Linked DNA regions of Homo sapiens: all the other regions are linked to region 3. Evidence: promoter capture Hi-C in human tissues and cell types (Jung and others, 2019). All regions are on one chromosome and are shown on one strand. The core of a region is centred on a gene start or on the middle of the fragment in contact, and the rest is flanking DNA. Distances in the headings are between cores, read along the strand shown. Region 1 holds the start of NDST2 (N-deacetylase and N-sulfotransferase 2). Region 2 has its middle 33 kb from the start of C10orf55. Region 3 holds the start of VDAC2 (voltage dependent anion channel 2). Region 4 overlaps AP3M1 (adaptor related protein complex 3 subunit mu 1). Region 5 overlaps ADK (adenosine kinase).

Region 1 (2,700 bases), core at 38-2,537, 1.4 Mb after region 3:
AGCCCCTGGGCCCTAGCCCTTTCCTGCCCTGCAGTCTGCAGTGCCAGCACGCAAATCCCTTCACCACAGGGTTTCGTTTTGCTGGCTTGAAGACAAATGGTCTTAGAATTCATTGAGACCCATAGCTTCATATGGCTGCTCCAGCCCCACTTCTTAGCATTCTTACTCCTCTTCTGGGGCTAATGTCAGCATCTATAGACAATAGACTATTAAAAAATCACCTTTTAAACAAGAAACGGAAGGCATTTGATGCAGAATTTTTGCATGACAACATAGAAATAATTTAAAAATAGTGTTTGTTCTGAATGTTGGTAGACCCTTCATAGCTTTGTTACAATGAAACCTTGAACTGAAAATATTTAATAAAATAACCTTTAAACAGTCCATTGTGTTACTGCTGTTGGAGGTTTACGGCCAGAGGCGTAGATTTTAGCAGCCTGGCTTACCAGGTTGGAGAGAGTACCTCCTCCTACTCCCTTTGGGTACTTTTGAGAATAAAACTTCCTCATGCCTGTAATCCCAGTACTTTGGGAGGCCGACGCGGGCGAATCACGAGGTCAGGAGTTCGAGACCAGCCTGGCTAATATGGTGAAACCCCGTCTCTACTAAAAAATACAAAAAATTTAGCTGGGCATAGTGGCGGGCGCCTGTAATCCCAGCTGCTCGGAAGGCTGAGGCAGGAGAATCGCTTGAACCTGGGAGGGGGAGGTTGCAGTGAGCCGAGGTCGCGCCACTGCACTCCAGCCCAGGCGACAGAGTGAGACTCCGTCTCAAAAAAAAAAAAAAAAAAAAAAAAAAAAAAAAAAAACTTCTCATAAACAGCCTCCAAACAGCGCTCGGTGCTGCGCAGGCGACGCGGGGCGGGGAGGGAGGGTGAGTGCCCTGGGAGCCGGCTGAGGGCCTCGCCCCGCCCCTGGTCCCGCCTCCGGTTAGGCCGCTCCGCCTCTTACTCCTCCCCTCCCCCGAGTGGGCCGGCCCGGCTCCCCCTCCGCGGGGCTGAGTGGATGAGCCCAGGCCTGAGCCCGCCCCTGCTCCGAAGTCGTGGTCCCCGACGCTCGGCCGGCAGTGCCATCGCGCGGAGAGGAGGGGGTGCGCTTCCGCGGGCGGGGCGCGGAGCCCGCCGTCTCGGAGGCCGCGGCTCGGCCCGGCACTGCGGAGGGCCGCTTGATTTCCCGGAACCCAGGTCGCGCGGCTGCTAGGGCCGGAGCCGGTGGATCCGAGCGGGTGCCACCAGCGGCGGCGCGCCGCCTCCCCCGGTGGGAGCGGTGGTTGGGCCAGGCTGCGGCAGAGCGTTCGCTCGGAGATGGCGGAGCAGCCGCGACGCGGCCCGTGGCCCCGAAAGCAGGGAAGCCGGGCAGCCCCGGGACGCGGCGGAGCCCGGGGACAGCGGGGACGCCGCCCAGTCCTCCGGGTGAGCCGCCCCTGAGGAGACCCCCCCGCCCACGGTCGCGCTCAGGCCCCCCCAACAGACTCCCTTGGATGTTGCCACCATCACCACCCGCAGGGTCGTCCCGGGCGGCCCAGCGTGCGCCGCGCCCCGGGTCCTTTCCGCCGGCCTCCCTCAGAACCGCCTCGCTCCCCTCCGGACCGGGCGGGCTCCCTTCTTCCCGCAGGGCTCTCCCAGCCCAGAGGCTGTCTCGATGTCACCCCGGAGTCGCCGCCGCGCGCCTGTGGCCCCTTCCCCTTTGGTGTCCCACATCCGGTGCGCTCTTCGCATCCACCTGTGCCCCCGTCTCCTCTCGGCGGGGCCCCTCCACCCGCCAGCCCCGGGCCCCCTCGGCGCCCGCAGCCTCCGCGCCGCTGCTCCGGCCGTCCCGGCCTCCCCAAGCCCGGGCCCGGCCCCGGCCCCCGTCTGGCTTCGCCGTCCTCAGAGATCTCCCGCACACACCCACCCCGCCCAGCCCTGCTGGCCCTCAGTGTTCACTGGCCCGGCCTGCGGCGCTCCCGGCGCCCCTTCCCTAAACCTTGCTGCTTCTTCCAGGTATGAAGCTAAAATGCAGCGGCTAAGAACGCGGCTCTGGAGCTTGACAGGCCTGACGTCGAATCCCAGCCCTCCCACCAACTGAGCTGTGTGATCCTGGGCAAGGTTCTAAGCTTCTCTGAGTTACTCATATGTGAAATGGGGATAATGGAGCATGTACCTTTTCCCTACCTCTTAGGGCTGGTGTGAAGATTAAATATATGTGAAGCTCTTAGAAGAATGGCTGGCAAGTTGTAATTTCTCAAATACGGGATGATACACCCTGAGTATCAACTTCCCGTCAGTGACCTCCTCACTACAATGTTTTCTCTAAAGTTGCATCACATTCTTAGCATTCACCCCTTCCCGTCACCATTTTGATCCTCTCCCCCAGCTGTCTTCTCGTGTCGTTTTACCTAGGCCAAAGCTGAACTGTTTTATTTTTATTTTTATTTTTATTTTTTTTTGAGCTGGAGTCTAGCTCTGTCACCCAGGCTGGAGTACAGTGGCACAATCTCAGCTCACTGCAATTTCCGCCTCCCACGTTCAAGTGATTCTCCTGCCTCAGCCTCCTGAGTAGCTGGGACTACAGGCGCCCACCACCATGCCCATCTAATTTTTGTATTTTTAGTAGAGACGGGGCTTCACCATGTTGGCCAGGCTGGTCTCGAACTCCTGACCTCAAGTGATCACCCGCTTCGGCCTTTCACAGTGCTGGAATTACAGGCGTGAGGCACCAC
Region 2 (2,700 bases), core at 53-2,552, 1.3 Mb after region 3:
GGTGGAGGAACTAGGAGGGCAGATTTGCTTTCCTGAGAACAGAACCAGAGAGAAGCAATTGGGAATGGAGCGTAATTTAGAAACCAGTGATGGTGAGAAGCAGCTGGTGGCTCACTCCCGGCATGTCAGTCCTGCCTGGCTGGTTTCTTGAAGAGGAACAAGAATGCTGTATTTAAGGTTTCTTGCTTTTCCCCCCCACTTCCAATGGCTGCAGATACTGGCGGCCTCTTTCCTGGTCTGCTCCTGTCACTGCCCTCTGAGTGGAAGGGACGGTTGCCCCACAGATTGGCTGAAGAGCTGGAGCCTCAGGCTGGCAGGGAGGCCACAGCCCAAAGCACAGGGGCACCCAGGGGTAACATTATCCTGCCAAAGCCAAACAAGGAACTGAGTGTTTAGAATAACTTTAAGAAAGTTGTGGGCGTTTTCTCTGTCAGGGAAACCAGAAACCACAGTGAGATAATGGATAGCTATATTCAGGTCACAGATTATCAGCTGCCACTGCTGCTTCCTGTTCAAATTTGATGAAACTTCTTTCTAGTCACTGGAGCCTCCTGGATTCTGCGGGCATGTCAGCATTTAGTGATGTGGGACTCAGAGTTCCACCTAAGGACCTGACATAACCCGGGGGCAGAAACCGTTCTTTTGGGGTGAGGCTTCAGGGGCCAGCTCCTGGTGGAGGAGATGGTAGGTAAGGGGCCAACAGTAAGAATACAGTTTCCCGAACTTTTAGGGTGCTTCAGGCTCTTGGGCTAGGAGATTTTTGTGCATTATCTCATTTGACTCTCAAACCACCCTATGAGAGAGGTACTATTAGGATCCCTTATTTATTTATTTTATTTTATTTTAGAGACAGGGACTTGCTCTGTTGCCCAGACTGGGGTCCAACGAGGCAATCAGGGCTCACTGCAGCCTCCACCTCCTGGGCTTAAGGGATCCTCCCACCCCAGCCTCCTGAGTAGCTAGGACTATAGGCTCATGCCACCACACCTGGCTAATTTAAAAATTTTTTTATTTTGTTGAGACAGGCCTCACTTTGTTGCCCAGGCTGGTCTCAAACTCCTGGCTTTGAGCAATCCTCCCGCCTTGGCCTCCCAAATTGCTGAGATTATAGGTGTGAGCCACCTAGCCTGGCCTGTGATCCTCATTTTATGGGTGAGGAAAGGGGCTCAGAAATGTTGTCAATTGTCCAAGGGTCACAGGGGCAGAACTGGAAACCAAAATCAAAATCAGGATTTTTTTTTTACTTTCTTTCTTTCCCTCTCTTTCTTTCTTCCTTTCTTTCTTTTCTTTCTTTCTCCTCTTCCTCCTCCTCCTTTCTCTCTCACATAGTACTTTATTGAACTATAACTTACATATACCTACTATGTAATATATTAGGCCATGTCCACATAATTGTCCACATAATATGTGGTATACACTTATACCATTATGTCCATGTAGCCACCACCCGGATCAAAATGAGACTATTTCTATCACACTCCAGAGTTCCTTCATGCCCCTTTCCAGCAAATACTCACTCCCCCTAGCCTCCAATGTAACCAATATTCTGACCTCTATTCTCATAGATTAATTTTACCTATTCTCGAACTTCGTGTAAATAGAATCATATTCTTGTCCAGGAGTGATGGCTCACACCTGTAATCCTAACACTTTGGGAAGCCGAGGCAGGCAGATTGCCTGAGGTCAGGAGTTCGAGACCAGCCTGGCCAACATGGTGAAACCCCATCTCTACCAAAAATACAAAAAGTTAGCTGGGCATGGTGGCACACACCTGTAGTGCCAGCTACTCAGGAGGCTAAGGCATGAGAATCACTTGAACCCAGGAGACAGAGGTTGCAGTGAGCTGAGATTGCACCACTGCACTCCAGCCTGGGCAACAGAGCTAGACTCTGTCTCCCAAAAAAAAGAAAAAGAAAAAATAGAATCATATTCTTGTATGTGGTTTCTTCTGTTCCATATAGTATGTCTGTGGATTTTCCCACATTGCTGTACCAGCAGTATGTTCCTTTTTTATGCTGAATTGTATTCCGTTTTATGAATCTACCACCCAATTTATTTATCCATCCTCCTGTTGAATACTTAGATTTTTCTTTCCAGTTTCAGGCTATTTTGAATAACACTGCCATGAACATTCTTATTAGGGGGAAATATGTTTAACTTTATTAAGTACACCAAACAATTTTCCAAAGAGATTGGGCCATTTTATATTCCCAACAGCCCTGTACGAGAGTTCTAGTTGTTCTACATCCTTGTTAACACATGGAATTGTCAGTCTTTTCATTTTAGCCATTAGAGTGAGGGTGAGAAATCAGGTCTTTCTTATTCCAAAGCCTATGCAGCATCATAAAACACTCAATCTGGCTGGGCATGGTGGCTCATGTCCGTAATCCCAGTACTTTGTGAGGCCAAGTGGGGGTGAATCACCTGAGGTCAGGAGTTCAAGACCAGCCTGGCCAACATGGTGAAGCCCTGTCTCTACTAAAAATACCAAAAAAAAAAAAAAAAAAGCCATGCATGGTGGTGCACACCTGCAATCCCCACTGAGGCAGAAGAATCGCTTGAACCTGGGAGGTGAGGTTGCAGTAAGCCAAGATTGCACCACTGCACTCCAGCCTGGGCAACAGAGCGAGACTCTGTCTCAAACAAGTAAATAAGGCTGGACGTAGTGGCTCATGCTTGTAATCCCAACACTTTGGGAGG
Region 3 (2,700 bases), core at 148-2,647:
TTCTCCCACCTTCTATCCAAGAACAAGAGCATGACCCACTGCTGATATTAAAATTCAAGCAATCCCATTTGTTGGAATGTTTTTTATGCGGTCAGGAGCTACAATAGAACTATAACGACCCATAAAGGAGATACCACCAACGAATTATTTCTAAAACAGATAACCATGATTATACAAACTTGGGGAATTCGTTTCAAAACGGAAAAACAGTCTATTACCTACAGCCTCACTTCCTAGGACTGGACAAGTACAAAGAATCAAACAAGTATTTGTGTGTATGGATATTTATGTATCTGCCAAAATTCACTGAGATGAGCTGATTTAACTAAATTAGATAAAACCGAAACCTAAGACTAGGCCCTTTACCCTGATACGTCCTTTAATATCTTCGCTGAGGGGAAAACCAACACCCTGGAGTGGGAAGAGAATTTAATACTGGGAATTTAAATATTGAAACTTGGAAAAAATACTGCCATGTGTGTTTCACTCAAATGTCTACATCAACTAAATATCAAATAGCGCTTCAAACTTACTAATGTGACTCTCAAGTCCTCGGCCAATGCTGTGCTGCTTAAGGGCAGGCAATCTGAGCTCATTACACCAGCTCATTCATTCCACAAAGCACGTCCACGCCCTTAGGAGCACAAGTAATGACCTTGCGCTCTCACAAGAGGGACTGCTACTTCCTCTAGAAAAGTGATTGATCCGATCCTCCAAAGGCAGAATCCCCAATTAACAACTTTTTACTTCTATACGTCAAAGACATGTACAAAGGCTGAAAAGTCCATGCGGCCACAGACCAACTCCCCGGGCCTTGTTCCCCATTTGAAATCCAGCAGCCCAGCCCCTCCTCCGCAGAGGAGGTGGTCAGACGGTGGGGCGACCACCAAAAGCAGCCGAATTTCCAAGTTCTTGGAAAGATAGGGGGAAACAAACTGGGTTTCTGGTCGACAGGCTTCGACTCTCCGCCGCCCCATCCCGCAGAGATCCCAGCTTTACTTACGACGCGCGCAAGTCTGTCCGTGGGTCGCCATGGCGAGGCCGCGGGAAGAGGGGAATCTGCGGGAGGGACAAGAAGTGCGGTAAGCTGGGGTCAAAGGGCCAAAGGGAGATCCCGGGCAGAGAGGGGCGAGGGGCCGCGGGGCAGCGCGGCCATCTTAGGAAGCCAGGGCCGACTCCGAGTCCGGCGCGGGCCTCCGGCTTGGCCGCCGCGGCCTAGGCCCCTGGGTCGGCGTGAGGCGGGCGCGGCGGTACCTGGTGGTGTCCTGAGGGGGGCCGCCGCCACCGCTCCGCTAGCTGCTGAAGCCGCTTGGCACGCTCGCGGTCGGGCTGCAGCTCCAGCAGCTGGAGGGCGAAGTGAAGGAGACACCGTTCCGCCCGCCGCAACCCTGTCCTCTCCCAGACAGGACCCCGCCGCTGCCCCCGGGGCTGTCCGCCGCGCCTGTCCCTGCAGCGCAGCCCGCTGCCAACTCCAACCTGCTCCAGAGCGGCCACGTGGACCGACAGCGCCCCGGTCCTGCAGGTGGGCTGCCTCCGTCCGTCGGTGGGGATCCGGAAGGCAGAAGCTGCTGGGCCTTGGATCAGGCAGCTATCCGGGCAGCCTCAGAGGCGAGGGGGCGGGGAACGGCGGAGGCAGCGCGCTGGGGACCGCCTGGGAGGGGGATGGGGCGGAGGCCCCGCGCGAACGCGTCACGGACGGGGCGGGGCGTCGGCGCGTGGCCGGGGCGATAGGGCGCGGCTGCGCACCAGGGTCACGTAGATCTCTCCTACTCCCCTTACGCGCTGGTGCGGGTTCCCCCCCGAAACAAAGCCCTGCATAGGGTGCCTGCGGGGAGTCAGCTGAGCGTTACCCACGTCCATCCTAAGCTAGCGCAGCCTGCGCTTCTGAGGGACCGCTTCTCTTTCCCAGCCCAGGGAGAACGAGTGGGACACAGGGGCGCCACCTCCAGCCCCTCGCGCTCTTCTGCCCTCTTTTCCCACCTTGGTGTGACTGCCTTGCTGTGCTGGGTTGTGTGCCTGAGAGGCTTTTTGGGACTGCCTCTCCCTGAACAAATGTGAGCGGGTCCTAGCGTGCCCCACCCATTTCCACGCCGCCTTACGCTTTCTCTTCCGCGGCTCCTCCCCACTCAGGCATGGCACTGCTTCACACACGCACGGAGCCGGAGCTTGGCGAGGCAAGCCTGCTCCGGGCCCAACCTCCTCTGGATTATGGGCCTGGAGAAAATGTGGAATCATGCTGAGCAGGCGTTAGAATGCCGCACCCGAGTTCCCCGGGTGTGCAGGAAGGGTGACAGAGCTATTAGATAAAATGTATATGGGAGACCGTTAGTTTAGACTGACCTCCTGCATTAGGCCCATCAGACCAAACCAAAATGGGGTTACTCATGCTGAAGTTTCACACTACCACGCCAAAGCTAGGATCTTTATCTGACCTTCCAAGAAATCAGGAGAGAAACAGATGCTAGCCAGATCCCCAAACAGGCTGGGCGCGGTGGCTCACACCTGTAATACCAGCACTTTTGGATGCCGAGGTGGGCGGATCGCCTGAGCTCAGGAGTTCCGGACCAGCCTAGGCATAGTAATACCCTGCCTCTACCAAAAAAAAAAAAAAAAAAAAAAAAAATAGCCGGGCGTGGTGGCTGGCGCCTGTAGTCCCAGCTAATTGGGAGGCTGAGGAGGGAGGATCGCTTGAGCCTGGGA
Region 4 (2,700 bases), core at 26-2,525, 1.1 Mb after region 3:
TCTTCTCTTCCATGAGTCCCCTTTTCATTATAACATTCCATCTTATAGAATAATAGATTTTTGCCAGGCACGGTGGCTCACACCTGTAATCCCAGCACTTTGGGAGGCTTAGGCAGGAAGATCACTTGAGCCCAGGAGTTCAAGACCAGCCTAGGCAACATAGCAAGACCCCATATCTATCAAAAATTTAAAAGATTAGCTAGGCATGGCTTCCTTAATCCTACCTATTCAGAAGGCTGAGGCAGGAGGATTGCTTGAGCCCAGGAGTTCAATGCTGTGGTGAACTATGTTCACACCACTGTACTCCAGCCTGGATGGCAGAGGGAGACCCTGTCTCTTAAAAAAAAAGAGATATCTTTCTATTATGGATCCTATTTCTTAAAAGTTAACTTAGTCCATTTCATAATACACTTGCCACATTTTAAAATTCTATTGAAGCCGGGCGCGGTGGCTCACACCTGTAATCCCAGCACTTTAGGAGGCTGAGGCGGGTGGATCACGAGGTTAGGAGATCCAGACCATCCTGGCTAACACAGTGAAACCCCATCTCTACTAAAAATACAAAAAATTAGCTGGGTGTGGTGGCAGGCGCCTGTAGTCCCAGCTACTCGAGAGACTGAGGCAGGAGAATGGCGTGAACCCGGGAGACAGAGCTTGCAGTGAGCCCAGATAGCGCCACTGCACTCCATCCAGCCTGGGTGACAGAGCAAGACTCCGTCTCAAAAAAAAAATTAAAAAAAAATAAAATTCTATTGAAAATGGTTTTGGTTGGTTTGTTTTATTTTGTTTTTGAGACAGAGTCTCACATTGTCGCCCAGGCTGTAGTGCAGTGTTGTGGTTTCAGCTCACTGCAACCTCCGCCTTCTACGTTCAAGCGATTCTCCTGCCTCAGCCTCCCAAGTAGCTGGGACTACACGCACACACCACCACGCCTGGCTAATTTTTTGTATTTTTAGTAGAAACGGGGTTTTGCCATGTTGCCCAGGCTGGTCCCAAACTCCTGAGCTCAGATAATCTACCCACGTCAGCCTCCCTAAGTGCTAGGATTACAGGCATGAGCCACTGCGTCCTGCCAAATGTTTTAAACTCATATCCAGTCATCTTACAGGGTTGGCTCCATAAAGGAAACAGTTTAATTTTCCTTAGAATTAGCATATTCTGGCTGGGTATGGTAGCTCACACCTGTAATCCCAGCACTTTGGGAAGCTAAGGTAGGCGGATTGCTTGAGCCCAGAAGTTTGAGACCAGCCTGGGCAACATAACAAGACCCTGTCTCTACAAAAAAAATACAAAAATTAGCCAGGCGTGGAGGTGCATGCCTGTAGTACCAGCTGCTTGGGAGGCTGAGGTGGGAGGATTGCTTGAGCCCAGGAGGTTGAGGCTGGCTATCATAGCACCACTACGCTCCAGCCTGGGTGACAGAGCAAGACCCTGTCTCAAAAAAAAAAAAATTATATTCTACAGTGGCATACCTGTAGTCTCAGTTACTCTGGGGACCAGCTGGGACTAGCTAGTCAGACTTTATCTCTTAAAAATAAAAGAATTATTATTATATTCCAGCCAGAGTTAAGTATGGACCTTGTCCCCTGACCTGTTAATAGAGATGTAAAGCTTCAGTTAATCTGACACCCAGAGGGTATCTCTATTGTTCTAGATGTAGTGATTGTTGGGCTAGGTGTCATGGCACGCACCTATATTCCCAGCTATTTGGGAGGCTAGGGCAGGAGGATTACTTGAGCCCAGGAGTGAGGCTGCAGTGAGCTATGATCATACAACTGCACTCCAACCTTGGCAACAGAGCAAGACTCTGTCTCTAAAAACAATAAATAAAAATAAAAAGATACAGTGATAGGTCTAGTGAAGACTCATATTCCATTGATGTTATCTTCCTTTTTTTTTTCTTTCTTCAGGATCTACAGTCTTTGCAGAAATTCAGGGGGTCATTGATGCTTGCATTAAACTATCTGGAATGCCTGATCTCTCCCTTTCTTTCATGGTAAGTTTTATTCTCCTGTTTTATAGCCCCTTGAATGCCTAATACATGTGAAGTACTAAATGAAATGATAAATATTGAGATAAGTTTGCATCTTAGATTGCAAAGGATTATCTCAGAAATATTCCTAGCAGAGTTTCCTAAGACAGTCGCTTACATGATGAGCGTGGTCTTTGTGGAAAGACTAAGGGAGGTCTTTGCCTGAGTGTGCTAGAAGGGGCTTAAAATTGGCTGGCTGGCTTCTGCAAATATCCAGTATCATTTTTACTGAATAATTATTTGCTTTGCTGATATGAAAGGACACTGGTCTTTTGTATCATTTTAGAGTCAGCATGATATACTGCTAGGAACAATTAAGAGAACTGACTTCTGGTGTTGTCACCAGTTTGCTCTGACCTTAAGTCCTCTGAACCTCAGTTTTTTAATCTGTTAAAGGGAAATAATACTACTTGCCTTTTCTCCTTTATAGTTATTGAAATTCAAATAAAATAATGTACATAAAATATTTACAAACTTTAAAGCATTATGAAACTATAAGGTTGTGTAGATGTGGTCATAAACTCTTCCATGACTGCTTTATCTTCAGGGAACATATTTGTCAAGGTATCTGAGTACAGTTCCCATATTCATTATAGTCTATGAACGACTGTCTTCTGTTTTTCTGGCAGAACCCTAGGCTTCTGGATGATGTCAGCTTTCACCCCTGC
Region 5 (2,700 bases), core at 14-2,513, 1.0 Mb after region 3:
CAAAAACACCAATGTCATACTGGCATAAGGACAGACATATGTATCAATGGAATAGAATGGAGTCCAGAAATTTACCCATATATCTATGGTCACCTGATTTTGTCAAGAGTATCAAGATCATTCAGTGGGGAAAAGAATAGTCTCTTCAACAAATGATGTTGAGACAATTGGATTTCCACACACAAAAGAATAAAGTTGAACCCTTATTTCATACCTTATACAAAAATTAACTCAAAATTGATCAAATGCCTAAATCTAAGACCTTAAACTACAAAACTCTTAGAAGAAAACACAGGCACAAATCTTTGTGATCCTGGATTTAACAATAGATTCTTACATATGACAGCAAAAGCATAAGCAACAAAAGAAAAATAAAATGGACATCATCAAAATTTAAAACTTTTGTGCATCAAAGGATACTATCAAAAAATTAAAGTAAATCCCCAGAATGGGAGAAAATGTTTGCAAATCATATGCTAGCTGATAGGGTCTAGTATCCAGAATATAAAAAGAACTTTTACAACTTAACAAAAAGACAACGACCCAATTAAAAAATGGGCAAAGAGCTTCAACATTTTCCCAAAGATATACAAATATCCAATAAGCATATGAAAAGATGCTAACATCAAAAGTTTTCAATAGAAAAATGCAAATCAAAATCACAATGAGACATCATTTCACACCCACTCATATGGCTATAATTTAAAAAATAAAAAATAAGCTTTGGCAAAGACGTAGAGAAACTGGAACACTTATGCACTGCCGGTAGGAATGCAAAACAGTGCAGCTGCTTTGGAAAACAGTTTGGTGGTTTCTCTAGAAGTTAAACACAGAATTACCATGTGACCCAGCAGTTCCACTCCTATGTGTATACCCAAGAGAAATGAAAACACATTCCTACACAAAAGCTTATACATGAATATTCATAAGAAGCATTGTTCCTAATAGACAAAAAATAAAAACAACATAAGTGTCCATCAACCAATGAATGGATAAACAAAATGTGGTCTATCCACACAATGGAATAGTCCACTATTAAAAGGAATGAAGGACTGATACATGCTACAACATGGATGAACCTTGAAAGCATTACATAAGTAAAATAAGCCCAAACACAAAAGGTCATATATATAAACACAAAAGATCATATATTATTATATGATTCCATTTCTATAAAATGCTCAGAATAGACAAATTCATAGAAAAACTAAGTATACTAGTAGTTCCCAGGAGACTGGGTTAGAGGAGGGAATAGCGAATGACTACTTACTGGGTATGGGATTTCATTTTGGGGTGATGAAAATGTCCTGAATTAGATAGTGGTGATGGTTGTACAACTTTGTGAATATACTGGCAGTCACTGAATTGTATACTTTATAATGGTTAAAACGATCAATTTTATGCGATATAAATTTTGCCTCAATTTTTTAAAAAGTAATTACTCTTGGGTACAGAAATCAGGGTGTGTGAGGAGAGGGGGGATCTTGCTTTCTCATCATTAATCTTTTTTACTACTTAAATTTGCCATATAGTAGTGCCCCCGTTATCCGAGGTAGATGCATTGTAAGATGACCAGTGGGTATCTGAAACCATGGATAGTACTGAACCATATATAGATAGATAGATAGATAGATAGATAGATAGATAGATAGATAGATAGATAGATACATACATACATACATACATACATACATACATATACACACACACACAAACACACACACACTGTTTTTCCTACACATACATACCTACACATCATACTATGATAAAGTTTCATTTATAAATTAGGCACAATAAGAGATTAACAACAACTAACTAAAAATAGAACAACTATTAAAATATACTGTAATAAAAGTTATGTGGACGTGGTGCATGTCTCTCTCTCAAAATGTCTTATTACACTGTCCTATGGGTAACTGAGACCTCAGAAACTGAAAACAAGGACACAAGTGGGGACTATTGTACGAAATGGCCTCAAATACTTAGGTAAATAAACAAACTGATTTCTCAGCTAAGTTGAAACATTGGAAGTTACTAATAAAGCGGAAACAGCAGAGCTTCATATCCTCTGAATTATATCCTGCACGTTCTCTTGTCTTCTCTAATCATCTTTCTTCTCCCATTATAGCTTCTGAGAGGAAACCAGACTGGGCACATTCGGGGTAGAATGTCTGTAGATTATGATACCATTATAGACGTAGCTCACTGACAGTAGTTTAAAAGTTGGGGAATTAAATAATTAGGTAAATTATATAAACTTTTCTCCTTCCAAATAATAAGCAAAAAAGTTTTAAGTAAAAATAGCAATGTATATAAGTTTTCCCAAGGAAAACTGTACTCAGTTATTCAATAGTTAATGATAGCACACTTGCTATCACCAAACTTAAATTTCCTGAGTTTTCCTTTAATTGAAGACATTCGGTGGTAAATTCACTTCTAAAGTTTTCATCCATTCTTCTTCAAATGTAAGTTCCACATAGTGCATATGAAGAGTTTAATACTTACTTATCAAGGAAATCTTTGTCCACTACAGCAGAGATGTCAAGCAGAGGATTTCCCATTCCAAAGAGAATATTTTCTCTAAAAAAACACAAAACACAAGTTAGAAATACTTCTAAAAGTAAGTTGATATGTAAAAGGTACACAAAATAAAAATAACTATCTTCATTTCAACCTGAAAATAAACCTAACACACCAGTT

Evidence for each region. Contacts are between HindIII fragments. The study calls those that stand out against the background at their distance.
Region 1: a contact is called between the fragment with the promoter of NDST2 here and the fragment with the promoter of VDAC2 in region 3, in 1 of the 25 tissues and cell types used here (spleen).
Region 2: a contact is called between a fragment that was not itself captured here and the fragment with the promoter of VDAC2 in region 3, in 1 of the 25 tissues and cell types used here (stomach).
Region 4: a contact is called between a fragment that was not itself captured here and the fragment with the promoter of VDAC2 in region 3, in 2 of the 25 tissues and cell types used here (aorta and heart right ventricle).
Region 5: a contact is called between a fragment that was not itself captured here and the fragment with the promoter of VDAC2 in region 3, in 1 of the 25 tissues and cell types used here (lymphoblastoid cells).

What each region holds. Positions count from the first base shown.
Region 1 is chr10:73,810,185-73,812,884 of GRCh38, reverse strand. NDST2 (N-deacetylase and N-sulfotransferase 2) reads left to right here and starts at 1,287. Exons shown (of 15, transcript NM_003635.4): 1 at 1,287-1,411; 2 at 1,982-2,086. It overlaps CAMK2G (calcium/calmodulin dependent protein kinase II gamma), which reads left to right. Exons shown (of 23, transcript NM_001367534.1): 23 at 1-384. NDST2-ZSWIM8-AS1 (NDST2-ZSWIM8-AS1 readthrough) reads left to right here and starts at 1,065. Exons shown (of 18, transcript NR_182658.1): 1 at 1,065-1,411; 2 at 1,982-2,086. RefSeq lists silencers at 773-1,482, 1,783-1,852. The HindIII fragment of the contact is 10,328 bases long and covers 1-2,472 here.
Region 2 is chr10:73,954,486-73,957,185 of GRCh38, reverse strand. No RefSeq gene overlaps it. Among named protein-coding and RNA genes, the nearest start is that of C10orf55, 33 kb to the right of the region's middle. RefSeq lists enhancers at 1-278, 466-565. The HindIII fragment of the contact is 8,231 bases long and covers 1-2,700 here.
Region 3 is chr10:75,209,493-75,212,192 of GRCh38, reverse strand. VDAC2 (voltage dependent anion channel 2) reads right to left here and starts at 1,397. Exons shown (of 10, transcript NM_001391963.1): 1 at 1,255-1,397; 2 at 1,004-1,059. The coding sequence starts at 1,034. RefSeq lists silencers at 1,124-1,493, 1,514-1,823 and enhancers at 1,468-1,762, 1,493-2,074. The HindIII fragment of the contact is 11,244 bases long and covers 1-2,700 here.
Region 4 is chr10:74,129,203-74,131,902 of GRCh38, reverse strand. AP3M1 (adaptor related protein complex 3 subunit mu 1) reads left to right here. Exons shown (of 9, transcript NM_012095.6): 5 at 1,911-1,996; 6 at 2,662-2,700. Among named protein-coding and RNA genes, the nearest start is that of AP3M1, 20 kb to the left of the region's middle. The HindIII fragment of the contact is 5,109 bases long and covers 1-2,700 here.
Region 5 is chr10:74,200,644-74,203,343 of GRCh38, reverse strand. ADK (adenosine kinase) reads right to left here. Exons shown (of 11, transcript NM_006721.4): 2 at 2,506-2,580. Among named protein-coding and RNA genes, the nearest start is that of ADK, 51 kb to the right of the region's middle. The HindIII fragment of the contact is 4,846 bases long and covers 1-2,700 here.